Regions from separate parts of the Homo sapiens genome. Here all the other regions are linked to region 4. Evidence: promoter capture Hi-C in 16 types of primary human blood cells and fetal thymus (Javierre and others, 2016). All regions are on one chromosome and are shown on one strand. Each heading gives the region's core, a stretch centred on a gene start or on the middle of the fragment in contact. The rest is flanking DNA. Distances are from core to core; before and after follow the strand shown. Region 1 has its middle 59 kb from the start of SPCS3-AS1. Region 2 overlaps SPCS3-AS1 (SPCS3 antisense RNA 1). Region 3 has its middle 15 kb from the start of SPCS3-AS1. Region 4 holds the start of NEIL3 (nei like DNA glycosylase 3).

Evidence for each region. Contacts are between HindIII fragments. The CHiCAGO score rates a contact against its expected background, and 5 or more counts as called.
Region 1: a fragment that was not itself captured here is called in contact with the fragment with the promoter of NEIL3 in region 4 in 1 of 17 cell types (endothelial precursors); the score reaches 5.4 in endothelial precursors.
Region 2: a fragment that was not itself captured here is called in contact with the fragment with the promoter of NEIL3 in region 4 in 1 of 17 cell types (activated CD4 T cells); the score reaches 6.4 in activated CD4 T cells.
Region 3: a contact is called between a fragment that was not itself captured here and the fragment with the promoter of NEIL3 in region 4, in 1 of 17 cell types (monocytes). The highest score is 5.3, in monocytes.

What each region holds. Positions count from the first base shown.
Region 1 is chr4:176,378,284-176,381,544 of GRCh38, reverse strand. It overlaps a transcript of LOC124900817 not described here. Among named protein-coding and RNA genes, the nearest start is that of SPCS3-AS1, 59 kb to the right of the region's middle. The HindIII fragment of the contact is 2,194 bases long and covers 905-3,098 here.
Region 2 is chr4:176,315,100-176,318,378 of GRCh38, reverse strand. All of the region lies in intron 1 of SPCS3-AS1 (SPCS3 antisense RNA 1), which reads left to right. Among named protein-coding and RNA genes, the nearest start is that of SPCS3, 3.2 kb to the left of the region's middle. The HindIII fragment of the contact is 4,304 bases long and covers 1-3,279 here.
Region 3 is chr4:176,333,614-176,336,969 of GRCh38, reverse strand. No RefSeq gene overlaps it. Among named protein-coding and RNA genes, the nearest start is that of SPCS3-AS1, 15 kb to the right of the region's middle. The HindIII fragment of the contact is 4,185 bases long and covers 1-3,356 here.
Region 4 is chr4:177,308,042-177,311,392 of GRCh38, reverse strand. It overlaps NEIL3 (nei like DNA glycosylase 3), which reads right to left and starts at 1,519. Exons shown (of 10, transcript NM_018248.3): 1 at 1,284-1,519. The coding sequence starts at 1,439. RefSeq lists an enhancer at 1,349-1,438 and a silencer at 1,519-1,638. The HindIII fragment of the contact is 15,817 bases long and covers 901-3,351 here.

The DNA of each region.
Region 1 (3,261 bases), core at 752-3,251, 930 kb after region 4:
CACCCTGGGCCTCATGTGGCCATGGGCCTTGGGTTGTACAAGCTTGATTGAGCATCATTGGCTTAGGAAAATCTGAGAAAACTTTGTAAGAAGTAGTAAAATATGGATAAATAAACTGAAGCCCATCAAACAAAGGCCTTACATGCTCACCTGAGTGGCTCGAGTTTGGTATAAAAATAATACATACTAGATTCCAAAGTAGAGGAACGATACAGTGATTTAGTGATCTAGTGATTTAGAAGCAAGCAATCTGGCAATCAAGAGCATGATGGATCATGCTGGAAAAAAACTTCAGAGAAGTGGAGAGAATGGATAAAAGCACCTCTAATAATCCCAAAATGAGGTGATGGAGGCCTGAAATGAGACAGTGGTGAGGAGTCCAGCTCCTAGCCAAAAACCTATAATCATCTTTCAAACCCTACCACAGACAATTGCAAAGGATTTACCTGGCAGGCTTCACAGGGAAAAATTGTCCTCCCCACACCAGACTGTGTGCAGCCAGTAAACTGCAGTCTCTGAAGGGAGCTGCAGTCAAGGGCTCAGTCACTCCATCCTCAGCACCATGCGCTTATGCATATCTGCATCTCTAGCCCTCCCTGCATTCAGAGAGAGGAGGTCTCTTCATCGGGTCATTCTGCGGAGGCCTCCTCACTGGGGAGGACACTTGAAGCCTCTTTTTTCTCTCTGACTCAATATTCACTGTTTCCCACACCTAGTCCTCCCCTCTCCAGCTCACCCCCATCCCCACCCCTGGGTCCATAAAATGGCCAGAGCCTTTTGTTCGGGCTCCCGTACGTAGGTGGTGAGATAATTCCCCGCCCCACTCCCCCGTGTGCACTGATACATTGGACCTTCACCCAGTGCCCTTCTGTGGAGAAAAAAGGAACATTAAAATGGTTAAGCTTTTTCCTCTTGCCTATTCTACTACCTTAGAAAGTCATTAAAGGATTGGCTGTTACTTTCACTTTGGCTTGTTGTCTTAATTGACCACTCCACCACGGGCGTCTCAGCTCTCTCCAGCTCAGCTCAGCTCTTGACAGGTGGCAGAGCGAATTTTGAAAAATGTTGAATATAGTAGACACCCTAGCTCTGATCTCCATTCTTGTTTTAAGCAAATCTCCTACACTCTCAGTCCTCAGAACTATAAACTACAATTGTAAAACATTTCTCAGAGAAAAACTTATAATATTTAAATACTAGTTTTAAATTCTTTAAAAAAAGATCATGACAGTGTTTCAATTTCAAATTTACAATATAATATGCTAAAAGTCCATACTTCATGGTCTAGACTAATTTAAATGAAATTTTTGTATCACCAGCATTTGTAATGTAAATCCAAGAGTCGAGAGATCTTTAAATTATTGCATTTCAAAAACATTACTGGAAAATGATAAACTATAGGGACCTAAAGTCTCAAACAACTATGATAGAGATTGAATACCTGACAATCTTTAAAAGTAGGGATGTGAGGAAATGAGGAGAGGATTTATTTGCCTCCATTGTACTCATCTCTAACATTAAATATTCAAGTTCATGGAAAAAGCAATGTGTTTATTTTACGGTGCTCTGATACTGTGATAACTACTGTGACTTCTTATGGGAATATTGCTGCATAACAATTGCCAGAGAAGCTCATCAATCTGTGTTTCTCAAATGTGAGCAGCTCATTAGTACAATCTCCACCCAGGGAACACACAGAGCTCCCTTCTCTGCTTCATCCTGCGATTTCCATCATGTCCCTGGACCATCATTACTATTTGTATTTGTAAAATCCTTCTCTTGCCTCTTCCTTTCTGTTATCATTTGATCACTTTGCCCTAAAAGCTGGATAACTGAGTACTCAGTCACTTCTTCTTTTTTTTTTTTTTTTTGAGATGGAGTCTTGCTCTGTTGCCCAGGCTGGAGTGCAGTGGCATGATCTCCACTCACTGCAACTTCTGCCTCCCAGGTTCAAGCGATTCTCCTGCCTCAGCCTCCCAAGTAGCTGGGATTACAGGCGTCTGCCACAATGCCTGGCTATTTTTTGTATTTTTAGTAGAGAAGGGGTTTTGCCATGTTGGCCAGGCTGGTCTGGAACTCCTGACCTCAGGTGATCCACCTGCCTCAGCCTCCCAAAGTGTTGGGATTACAGGCGTGAGCCACCACCCTCTCAGTCACATCTAAAGGGGACAATGTGTGAATCAATGACAGACATGAGTATTGCTCTCTTCTTTTACTTTGTAAATTCCTATATATGCATTCCTATATATGCATTGATAATAAAACATTTAAGGTTTTACAGAAGTTTTTGAGGAAAAGGCCTAGTACAAAAAGTTTTAAATCTAGTATAGAAACTACCATTAGGTTAGAAAACTAAGAGTTTTCTGCATACAAGATTTTCAGAATGATAGCATATTTCCCTTCTCAAATATTAAACTGTACTGTTTTTCTTAAAATTATTAAATAGTTGTTTAGTATGAAACTATGTTTCTTCTTTTCCTAGCTTTTCTCTAGTATGGTATCTTTTGTCCTGGCAAATAACCACTGTTTAATATACATTCCTTAAAACTAGCTTTTGTATTTAAAAGCTATGTAAATTATATACAAAGTCAAAAATCTTCAATAAATAAAATAAAGAGAAACATGGTAATTTTTATTTCGCCTGGTTGCAAATGGCCTGTAGACAATGAGGATCTATCTAAGGGGCAGGAGCAGGTTAAGGTGGGATCCCTGACAAGCATTCTAGCTCTATGTCCCTCCTTCAGCAAGAGCCACCAGATATGAGCAGAAATTTCTATACTTAAATACAGCACTCAGCCAGGCTGTTTCAATGAACTGATTTAAAATACAAGAATCACAAAACAAATGAAGAGACATCATCAGTTTCCCCACAATGAATTCGAGATTTGTTGAGAAAAACTGGTAATATTCTTCCCTTTTAAGGAAAATATTCCTTGAGGATAAATGATTAATTCCTATTAAAATGAGAAAGTAGATTTAAAACACAAAGATAGTTTGAGAAACATCCAAGGATTCATTGACTTTTGCATTTACTACATTTTCTTTAAAAAGGTACCCTCTCACTTTTAGAAAAAAACTCAATTTACGCAAATTAAGCTTGTTTTACCCAGGTTTTATAAAATCTGCCCTTACCTGACAAGCCCTGTGCTAGGATCAATGGCTAGACATAATGATTGTTTGTGATTGTAGCAGGAATGATTAAAAAGCACATTGTTTCACCCACATCTGCATGAATATATATCACACTACATGACATTTTAA
Region 2 (3,279 bases), core at 377-2,876, 990 kb after region 4:
ATTCTTGTTGTTGAACTGCAAGTACAGGTATATCTAAGAGATACTCAGAAGGCTGGTCCTGATAAACAATGCATGTATAAAAGAGTAAGCAGAAATAAGCCTGGAAAGGTAAGTTATGGTAGAAAACCAGGTCAAGAAGTTGACTTTATATCAGGGAAATTACATGTAAAACAAGCATCGCTACACAGGCAACCATTTACCAGTTATATGTGGAGAGTGAGTGATGGACCCAAAAGGAAGACTGATAGGAGGGGCATTTCGGAAACAAACTCTATGTTACTTAGCAACTGCCTAAATAAGAGTGGGGGTCTGCAAAGCATAGAGTGAATGCAGATTGTGAACACTCAAATGAAACTAGTATTATTATTATGACACCACAGTTTTTAACTTGACTTACTGGTAGTGCTAAAAACACATAAAAGTCCACAAAAAGAGCAGGAGAGGGATGGGATAGGGAATTTTCTTATTCTGTTTTATTTTTCCAAGTGTTTCTTTAGATTTTCTAGACATTTATATCACCTACATTAGATATCATTTTGCCTTTTCCGTTCCAATTATTATATTTCCAATTGTTTATTCATTTCAGTAGCTAATATTTCCAACATGATATTCAGTCAGATGGGGACAACTGATATCTTTTTGTTCCTGATTTGAGCAGGAAATTTCCTTTCATTTCTCCATCAAGTAAGATGTTGGCTTTGAGATGGAAATTGTGTGTGTGTGTGTACATGTATCATTATATAATATATATTGCATATTGATAGGAAATATCTATTCCTATTGGGAAATTTTTAAAAATATAAACAAGTGCTAAATTGTTTTCAGATGCATTTTCCCTATCTTATTTCCTCTACTTCTTTCCTCTATCTTATTTCCTCTGCTTATTTAATGGGTTATATGAATAGATTTTATAATATTGGCCCAGTAAGCATTCCTGGAATAAACTCCACCTGGTCATGATGAATTAGTTTTTAATATGCTCTTGTGCTTTCTTTGCTAATTTTGGGGTTTTTTGTTTTTTAGTTTGTGTAATCAATATTCATAGTGAAACTGATGTGTTTTTTTGATTGTAATATTATACTCAAATTAGAAAATATATATTTCTAATATAACAAGGAAAATAAGTTTTCCTTAGTTTTCTGTGCACTGGGATATTTTAAGTAGCATTTGGATCTGGTCTTTAAAAATTTGATAGAAAATTTGGTAGAAATTCCCAAGGGAGTCTATTCTTCTATTTTTTTTAAATTATTAATTGTTAATTCTAATTATGTATACTTGTGCTTTCTACCTTTTTCATTTATTGTTTTAATTAGTATTTTTTCTTGTTTTCTTTCAAAGCACTTCTGCATTTACTAATTAACTCTACTGTTTTCCAACTCATTAATTTTTGGTTTTAACACTATCAACTTTTTTCATTCCACTTTTTTTGTTTATTAGCTTTGGAAATTGGATATTTAGTTGGTATATTTTTCATGTTTATTGTTATGGTAACTGCTTTAGCTGTATCCTAAAATTTCTGACTATGAATTTCCAAGAGAAAGTACCATTTTTCCTTTTGATTGCTTTAAATTAATGTCTGATTTTAAATCATGTAGGCAGAGAATGCTGTTTGTATATTTCTATTCTTTGGATTATTGAGGTCTTCTTTGTGGCCTAAAATGTCACTTTTGTGAAAATTCAATGTGCAACTTGAAAGAAGGTATTTCCTCTTAATAGTATATAGAATTTGATAGATACCTATGAGATCTGCCTTATTGATTATGTTATTTATGTCTTTTACATCTGTAGTAATATTTGTTACCTTCATTTTCTTGGATTCTGAGAGATTTGTTAAAATCTCCAATACTGTGTTTTGTCTGTTTATTCTCACATCTCCTATAGTTTCTCCTTCACAAAAATTGTTGATATATTATTTGGTAAGCAAGTATTAATAATAGTTACATTTTCATTATGAATGGTAGTCTTCAACATTGTAACGTGTTATTTTATTTTTAATGCTTTTTGATGCAAATACTACTAGTCAAACACTGAGGTTGTACTGAAGGAAACTGAGGCTGTTTATCTGAAATAGTATTACAGACCTTAAATTAATACGTAGCATTTTTAAACTAAGTGTCTTGTACTCTTTAATGATTTCAGCTCAGAACCTAGTGGCAGTAATGGGGGGAGCGATTGGCATGCTTTGTCAGCGCTTGAGTAAATAGCGATCAGCTGGGAAAGACATGCCTAACTGTATTTCTGAAGGATAGAAAGAAACCTAGAATAAATGTAAAGTTTTGATCTTCATATTTGCAAATAATTATTCTTCTGTAACACCAAGCTAAGAAGAGGTAAGAACAATAAATCACTTTATAAGGAAATCTTTAAATAAAGCTGTGTGCACATGGCCAGATAATGCTTTTTAAAAAGGGGATAAACTGAAAGATATAATAAAAGCCTTCTTTTTTTTTTTTGAGATGGAATTTCGCTCTTGTTGCCCAGGCTGGAGTGCAATGGCGCGATCTCAGCTCACTGCAACCTCCACCTCCCAGGTTCAAGTGATTCTCCTGCCTCAGCCTCCCGAGTAGCTGGGATTACAGGCGCCCGCCACCACGCCCAGCTATTTTTTTGTATTTTTTGTGGAGACAGGGTTTCACCATGTTGGCCAGGCTGGTCTTGAACTCCCGACCTCAGCCGATCCGCCCGCCAAGGCCTCACAAAGTGCCGGGATTATGGGCATGAGCCACTGCGCCCGGCCAATAAAAACGTTCTAATTAAATATGGTGTTATTGGGAATATCCAAAGAGTCCACAAAGCACCAAGCTCCCCAGGGAAGTTCCTGCAATGGAGCATGTTATAGATCTAGCACATTAAGGACTCAAATGGTTTTCAGAAAGTGACTATGAATTATGTTGTTCATCATAGAGAGTGGGGATCAGGTCTTGTTCATTTTTCTATCCCTTTCAGTGCCCAGGACACTGAGCCTTGCACGTAGTAGATGGTCAAAAAAATTCTTATTGAATTGAGATACCTTGAAATCATAGATCATGATATTTTTGAAAGAATTCTCATGTAAAGCATATATGTCACACACAGGTAACGAACAGTTAAAGTGTAAATGGGTAAAATGGTAAAGTGTAAAGCTAAATTGAATATGTAGGCCAAGGACAAATTGTAAAAGGCTTGAGTGCCAGGCTAATAAGTTTGATCATAATTCAGGAGACAATAACGAACTTTTGAGGATTTTAGATCAGTTGAGTGTCATGACCATGTAGGCTCTCAGTAGATAAGTAATTTCTT
Region 3 (3,356 bases), core at 593-3,092, 970 kb after region 4:
TCTGCAAACCCAAATTTAGGCAAAGAGAACTCACACTTGGAAAAACCACTTTGGGAAAGTTTGGTAATATATAGTAAAGATGTTGATATGAATTCCATAAGACTTAGGAATTTCCAATCTTAGGTGTGTATGCTAGAGCAGTGGTCTTCGATTAGGAGGAACATGGAACTTTGTGCATGGTGACAGACAGCTGTATGGAAATCAGCTCTGCTCTCACACGTACTTCTAAAGTGATCTGGCTGGTAATGCGCCCAGGCTTGAGGTTCTTTCCCTCCATCATCCCTTTCACAAAGAAAGCCTCACCTCATCCAGAATCTTGCTATGGTGCACTGCCACAAGGCATCAAACCTTGGGGACAAAGAAATAATTTAATAATTCCCTTAATGAAAGCAACATAAATTATCCCCTCCCATATCTAATTCCATCTCATCAAGAGTTACGATTATCTATCACATTTCTAATATACTTCTTGTTTTGATCAACTGTGTACTATTGATAACTGCAGAATTAACTTACTCCAGAATAACTTTTACACCCTTAGAACTTAGAATATTGGGGTCAGAGGAAATTGTAAAAGATAAATTTCAATTTACATGCACATTTTTGTTACAAAGAAATGTGGTACAGTTATTAATAAAAGACTTGAAAATAGCACTCTCTAGAGTATTACCCATTAGGACAAAATTTTGCTAGAGGCATGTAAATATAATTTGAAAAAGAAATGATAAGAACTTTGACCACTAAGGAAGAATTTGTTCATTAGAAAATGAATGATTCTATCAAATCATATAAATACCATATTCCACTGGATACATTTAGATACATTTTTAAAGTAATGCAAAAAAAAGTAATGTGCAGTTGGTACTTTAAAATGTTAATACTTGCAATGTGCCAAAAATTACATTCTATGACAAGATGAAAATTTTTCAGTATTTAAGAAAGTTTAAAAAAAATCTTTGATGTGCTACACAAGCAACAAAATGTGAAGATCCCTTTCCTAGAGAAACACATACACCAGGCTACCTGTACAAGAACATTCAGAGCACATGTCTGTCAACAGAACAGGTAAATAAATTATGCCTACTCCGGATGCCTACTATGGATGACTATATTACAATGAATTACTGCCTAACAATGAAAATGAACTACACCTTCACACAAAAACATAAATGATTCTCTTAAAGTTAATGCTAAGCCAAAGCAGCAAGACCAAAAATTCTTATGGTAAGATTACATTTATGTTCATAACCAAACCAAACCAAACTGTATCGCTTAGGAATGTGTGATAGCTTATATTACATTTCTAAGAATTCCCTCCTCCTTTCCTGTAAGAGTATTACTCAGTGCCATGTGACTTGTGCTCTTTCCCTATGGAATCTAGCTCCCCAACCCTTCAACTCCTTGGCTTTGCCATGTGACATACTTGAGTCAATTAAAGGAGTAGACTGATGCTCATCACCTTCAATCAGAGGCTCCAAGAGTTTCCAACAGTTCTAACTGCCCTTTGGAATCCCAAAAGGAACTTTTCTCTCAATGTGGAATCTGGAATGAAGAGATGTGAGGAGTATATCCTAAGCCCCTATTGATGCAAGAAATACACATTTGTTTTTGTAAGCCACTGAGATGTTCCTATTGTCCATGATGGCAGTAAAGCTGATAGGATGCAACAGAGGTAGTAAACTTTTCAAGCAAGGCAAGAAAATGGCTAACACAAAACTGAAGACCGCAGAAAGGTAACAGGTTGTGATCCAGAAGAAGTATAGGGAGGGAGGCATGGAGTAATAGTATTGTTCCAACTGCTGATCTGAGTAGTAGTTACAAAGGCACATGCTTTATATTATTCAGTAAACTATATACAAATATCTCATAAACTTTTCCACATTTCCTTTTTTCCATTACAAATGTAAAAAAAAAGGTGAAAGACATTAATTCACAAGGACTTATGAATGTCCTTAGCCTAATACTTTTCAAATATAAGTTACTCCATATACCTCCCTTTACCATTAATGTTAAACATTTATCACTGAGATACTACTAGGAGATAGATTACATTTTACAGTAAAAACCCAGTTCATTTATCCTCTGAAAATCTGTCATGGAATGTCCTGAAATGCCTACCTTACATGAGACAAAACACCTGTGTAAGCCAATATAACTAAAATTAATCACACATTTTTTGCTTTTAATTCAATTTACTCAGTAAATATGTAGTGTCTTATAGTAAAATGAACAAGATAAACATAGCCTTCTTGCTCATGAAACTGACAAACATGAAACATATATATATGTATATATGTGTGTGTGTGTGTGTGTGTGTGTGTGTGTGTGTATATATATATTCCCAAGGGCAGCAAGAGCTATAAATGCTGCTGCAAAGTAAGGAAATAATGTTCCAGGAAAAAAAAATTAAGTACTGGATGATTAGGCTAGAGATTAGATCAGGTAACTCATGCCTGATAAGTGCTTTAAAATCTAACCCTTAACATCTAATATGCTCACCTTCAGAAAATCCTTAATGCACTACAGACAAGACACAAAAAGATAAATAAATGTTGACTATAATAAACTGGTATTCCCTGCTGGGATACAACAGGGGCTGGTCAGCTTAAGCTGGTGAGCATAAGCAGAAAGTGATAGAATGACTATGTGAGAAAGATTTATGCTTCCCATCCACCACATAGTTGTTCCTGAGAAGTGATTACCCAACTAAAGATTGTACTTCCCAGATGCCCCTTGCTTATCTGCACAGGGACGTGCAATTCGTTTTCACCCTTGGAATGCGAGTTGGTGGTGTGATACTCTGGGCGAAGCTAATTAAGCAGGTGGGCCTTCTCCACTCTTTTCCTCAACCCCAGACTGCCAACTTCAAGTGAGGTCTTGTCAACCCTGGGGCGGCAGTCACAAGCTGGAAGACACCTGGGTCCTTCAGTCACACCATGTGGAAAGCTGCCTCAATACCCACATTGGTTCCTTGTAAAAACGAGAAATAAACTTTTGTTTTCTTTTGAGATGGAGTCTCACTCTGTAGCCCAGGCTGGAGTGCAGTGGAGCTCTTGGTTCACTGCAACTTCCGCCTCCCAGGTCCAGGTTCAAGCAGTTCTCCTGCCTCAGCCTCCCCAGTAGCTGGGATTACAGGCACATGCCACCATGCCCAGCTAATCTTTGTATTTTTAGTAGAGATGGGGTTTCACCATGTTGGCTAGGCTAGTCTTGAACTCCTGATGTCGTGATCTATCCCCCTCAGCCTCCCAAAGTGCTGGGATTATAGGCGTGAGCCACCGTGCCCAAACTTTTTCTTATGCTACCAAAAGTTTGATGTCACCTATCATAGCACTTGGTGTTATTTTAACTAACAG
Region 4 (3,351 bases), core at 270-2,769:
ACACCTCAGCTTTGCTACTTCCCTGGGGAAGCCTTCCCAGGTCTTCCTACAAGTCCTTAAAGAATCGTGTATCTCTCCTTCACAGAACTTATTAATTTATATTTCTTTAGGTGATTATTTAATGAATGTCTTTGTGTCTTCCCAACTGAAGTATAGGCTCCAAAAGAGGAAGTATTTGTTTTTGCTCCCCAGGTGTCTTGAGTATTCAAAATTTTATTGAATGAGTAATTTTCATAAATATTAATATTCTTAAGAAACCATCTAAAATCCATCTCTGTGGTACCCTGAAACGATTTTAGAAACACTATAACAATAATAAAAAAAAATAGGTACAGAGTACTTACTGGCATATCAAGTCAAAATAAACAAAAGGGCAATTGGAAGGAGATGTAAAACTTATTTTTTCCCAAGTTTGAAAATATATTTTCTTAGACTTAGAACCTCATTTCTTTCAAGTTGTAAGCATATGCTAATTTCATAGCAGGCAACTTTTTCTTCCAGGACCAAAGGCTATAAGAAGCTTTGCAGAAGAAATTGAAATACAGTGCAATATTGCATGTAGGCATGAAATACAATCATCCATACATCTAGAGGGCTTTTAAAACATGATGCCTTAATCAGAATATTTTTAGTACAAGTTCTGGCCAAATGAATACCACATCGTCTGCAATGAATGCCTGAGTGGCAAGAAGCTGTGCTAGTTTACTTTAAAAAGAAATAAATTCACTTAAGGGAACCAGAACTGGGTTTCATTGCCCCTTAATTAGATGGCAATATGAAGTTGAGTGAGAAGTTAGTGCTAAATTTTCTACGTGTAGTTTTAGAATTATATACTAGTTGTGATATACTTACCAATTGCAGATTAGCCAAGCAAGAAAGTAGAATTTTATGCTAAAAGCTTAAAATGGGACGAAGAAAACATATCAGAGGTAGCAGAGATTTGATAATATCAATAGTAAAAAATGCAGCTGTAGACATGGGAAACCATGTGTGTATCATAAAGAAGTTAAGTAAGGTGACTCGGATAAAACACCTTCACTGGATTCCCCTAGGGCATCTTGCTCCGGCAGCGTGAGCCCAGAACGCTAGCCCTCCTCTCCTGCGCAGGCGCGCTAGGACCGACTTCTCCCTACAGTAAAGTGACGATAAACTCTGTGAAAGGTGGGACCCCAGGAAACCTGGGCCAGAGCAAAGAGATGACACTTTAAATCCTGGAACCCTGATGGGGTCTTTATTCCATTTCCCCCCTGCTGACTGCATGGCCTGTTACAGGAGTAGCTCACCTGCGGGGAGACCACAACCGTGGAGGCTGCGAGCCGCAAGGCGCGGCCCTGCAGACTCCGCAGAGCGCTTCCCCGCACGCCGGTCACCGCCTGGCCCGGGAGCACCCGCGCGCGAATCTTCTCTCCATTCAGAGTACAGCCTGGTCCTTCCACCATCTCTGTGGCCGGCACTGTGGCCCACCGATTGCAGGGCCTGGTGAGAATACCGCTGTGCAACTCAACGCTGCGCGGGCACTGACCGCACGCAGAGGAAATTCAAATCTCGCGCGCGTCTGGCCCCGCCCAGGCCCCGCCCAAACAGCACCCTAGCTGTTGAGGTCGCTCCCTACGGCGCATGCGCTGTGGTTCACCCCCGCCCTAGGTCTTGCTGTGGGTTTATTAAGAAAACGCAAACGCGCGTGGGGCGGGGGGCGTGGAGGACAACTAACTAGGCTGAACTGTAAAAGCAGAAGAAATTGGGACTTGGAAAGCTCTGAATGTATTTTCTTTGCGTTAAAGTTTTGCCCTTGTCTTTGAGCTACTTAGTATACACACATTTTCTGATCTGGTCCTCTTAATCTGTCCTTGTCTGTGACAGGACAGATATGTCACAGACAATCTTGTTTTTGGCTCTGTTTTTGGCATGCTATATTCGGACGTGGGTGGGATAAGAGAAACGAAGAAGAGGGTTTTTGGAACAAACAGCAGAATATATTCTAGTGTCTATATTTAAAAACTCCATTATTAGATAGTTAAGTGAGCCCTACCTAAGTGCATGCATCCATTTTGTAAGGGGACGCCCCAAGATGAAAGCTATATGAAATTGCTTTGTTAAACGTAGAGGTTTATATAAATTTGAGGGTAATGCGTAGCTTTTCAAATTTACCCACAACCCTAACCAAAGATGCATGCATACATATAAATCTATGAAGTTTATGACTCCATATAGTTTTGTAAATTATAAAGTGTATTCTTTTTTGAAAACTGAAATACTACACATTAAAACAGAATGTCAATTTCTAAGTGATTTCATAAGCATAGCACTGTGCTGCCGTTAAACCACAAGAGCATATACACAGGTGGTTGCTGACTTAGGATGCCCCAGCGTAACAGTGTTTTGACTGTATGATGGTGCAAAAGTGACACACAGTAGAAACTGTACTTTGAGTACTCATATAGCCATTCTGTTTTTCATTTTCAGTACAGTAGTCAATAAATTATTCAACACTTTATTATAAAATATGCTTTGTGTTAGGTGATTTTTCCCAACTGTAGGCTAATGTAAGTGTTCTGAACACATTTAAGGAGGGCCTCGTGAAGCTATGATGTTTGGTAGGTTAGATATATTAAAGGCATTTTCGACTTACTGTATTTTCAGTTTACAACGGGTTTATCAGGACATAACCCCATCGTAAGTTGAGGAGCATCTGTATACTAGAGAGTTGAATTTGAATATACTGAAGACTTGATTGAAATTTTGAAAAGTATTAAATCTTTCCTTTGCAGGGAGAGATTAGTGATCAAAAGTTGGCTGGATCAATTTCAGGACTATTTGTACTTTACTCCCTTGTTCAATTCAATAATCTCTGTCCTTTGATGGAGAAAAGTCCTATATACCTTCTCCTCTTTCAGCGTTGTACTAGTTATTTATTGTTACCTCATCAATTATCCCATTTGTTATTTCAAAGTTTCTGTGGGTCAGGAATTTGGCAATAGTCTAGCTAGCCAGAGTCATCCTGGCTCAGCATTTCTCAAGAGGTTACAGTTAAAATATTAGCCAAGGCTAAAGTGCCCCAAAGGCTTTTTGTAGCTAAAAGATCCACTTCCGAGATGAGTCACTTGCATGGCTGTTGGCAGGAGGCCTCAGTTTCTCACCTCTTGTGTCTCTATAGTGCAGCTCGGCTCTTCTAATGACATGGCAGCTGAGAGTGTGATCCAAGAGAGAAGTCAAGGAGAAAGCTGCAATGCCCTTTATTACTTAGTCACCCTTTATTACTTAGTTTACTATGGTAACTTACTTCTTATTCCATTCATTAGAAGCCAGTCATTAAATACAGTGCATTCACAAGGGGAGGGGAATTAAGCTGTG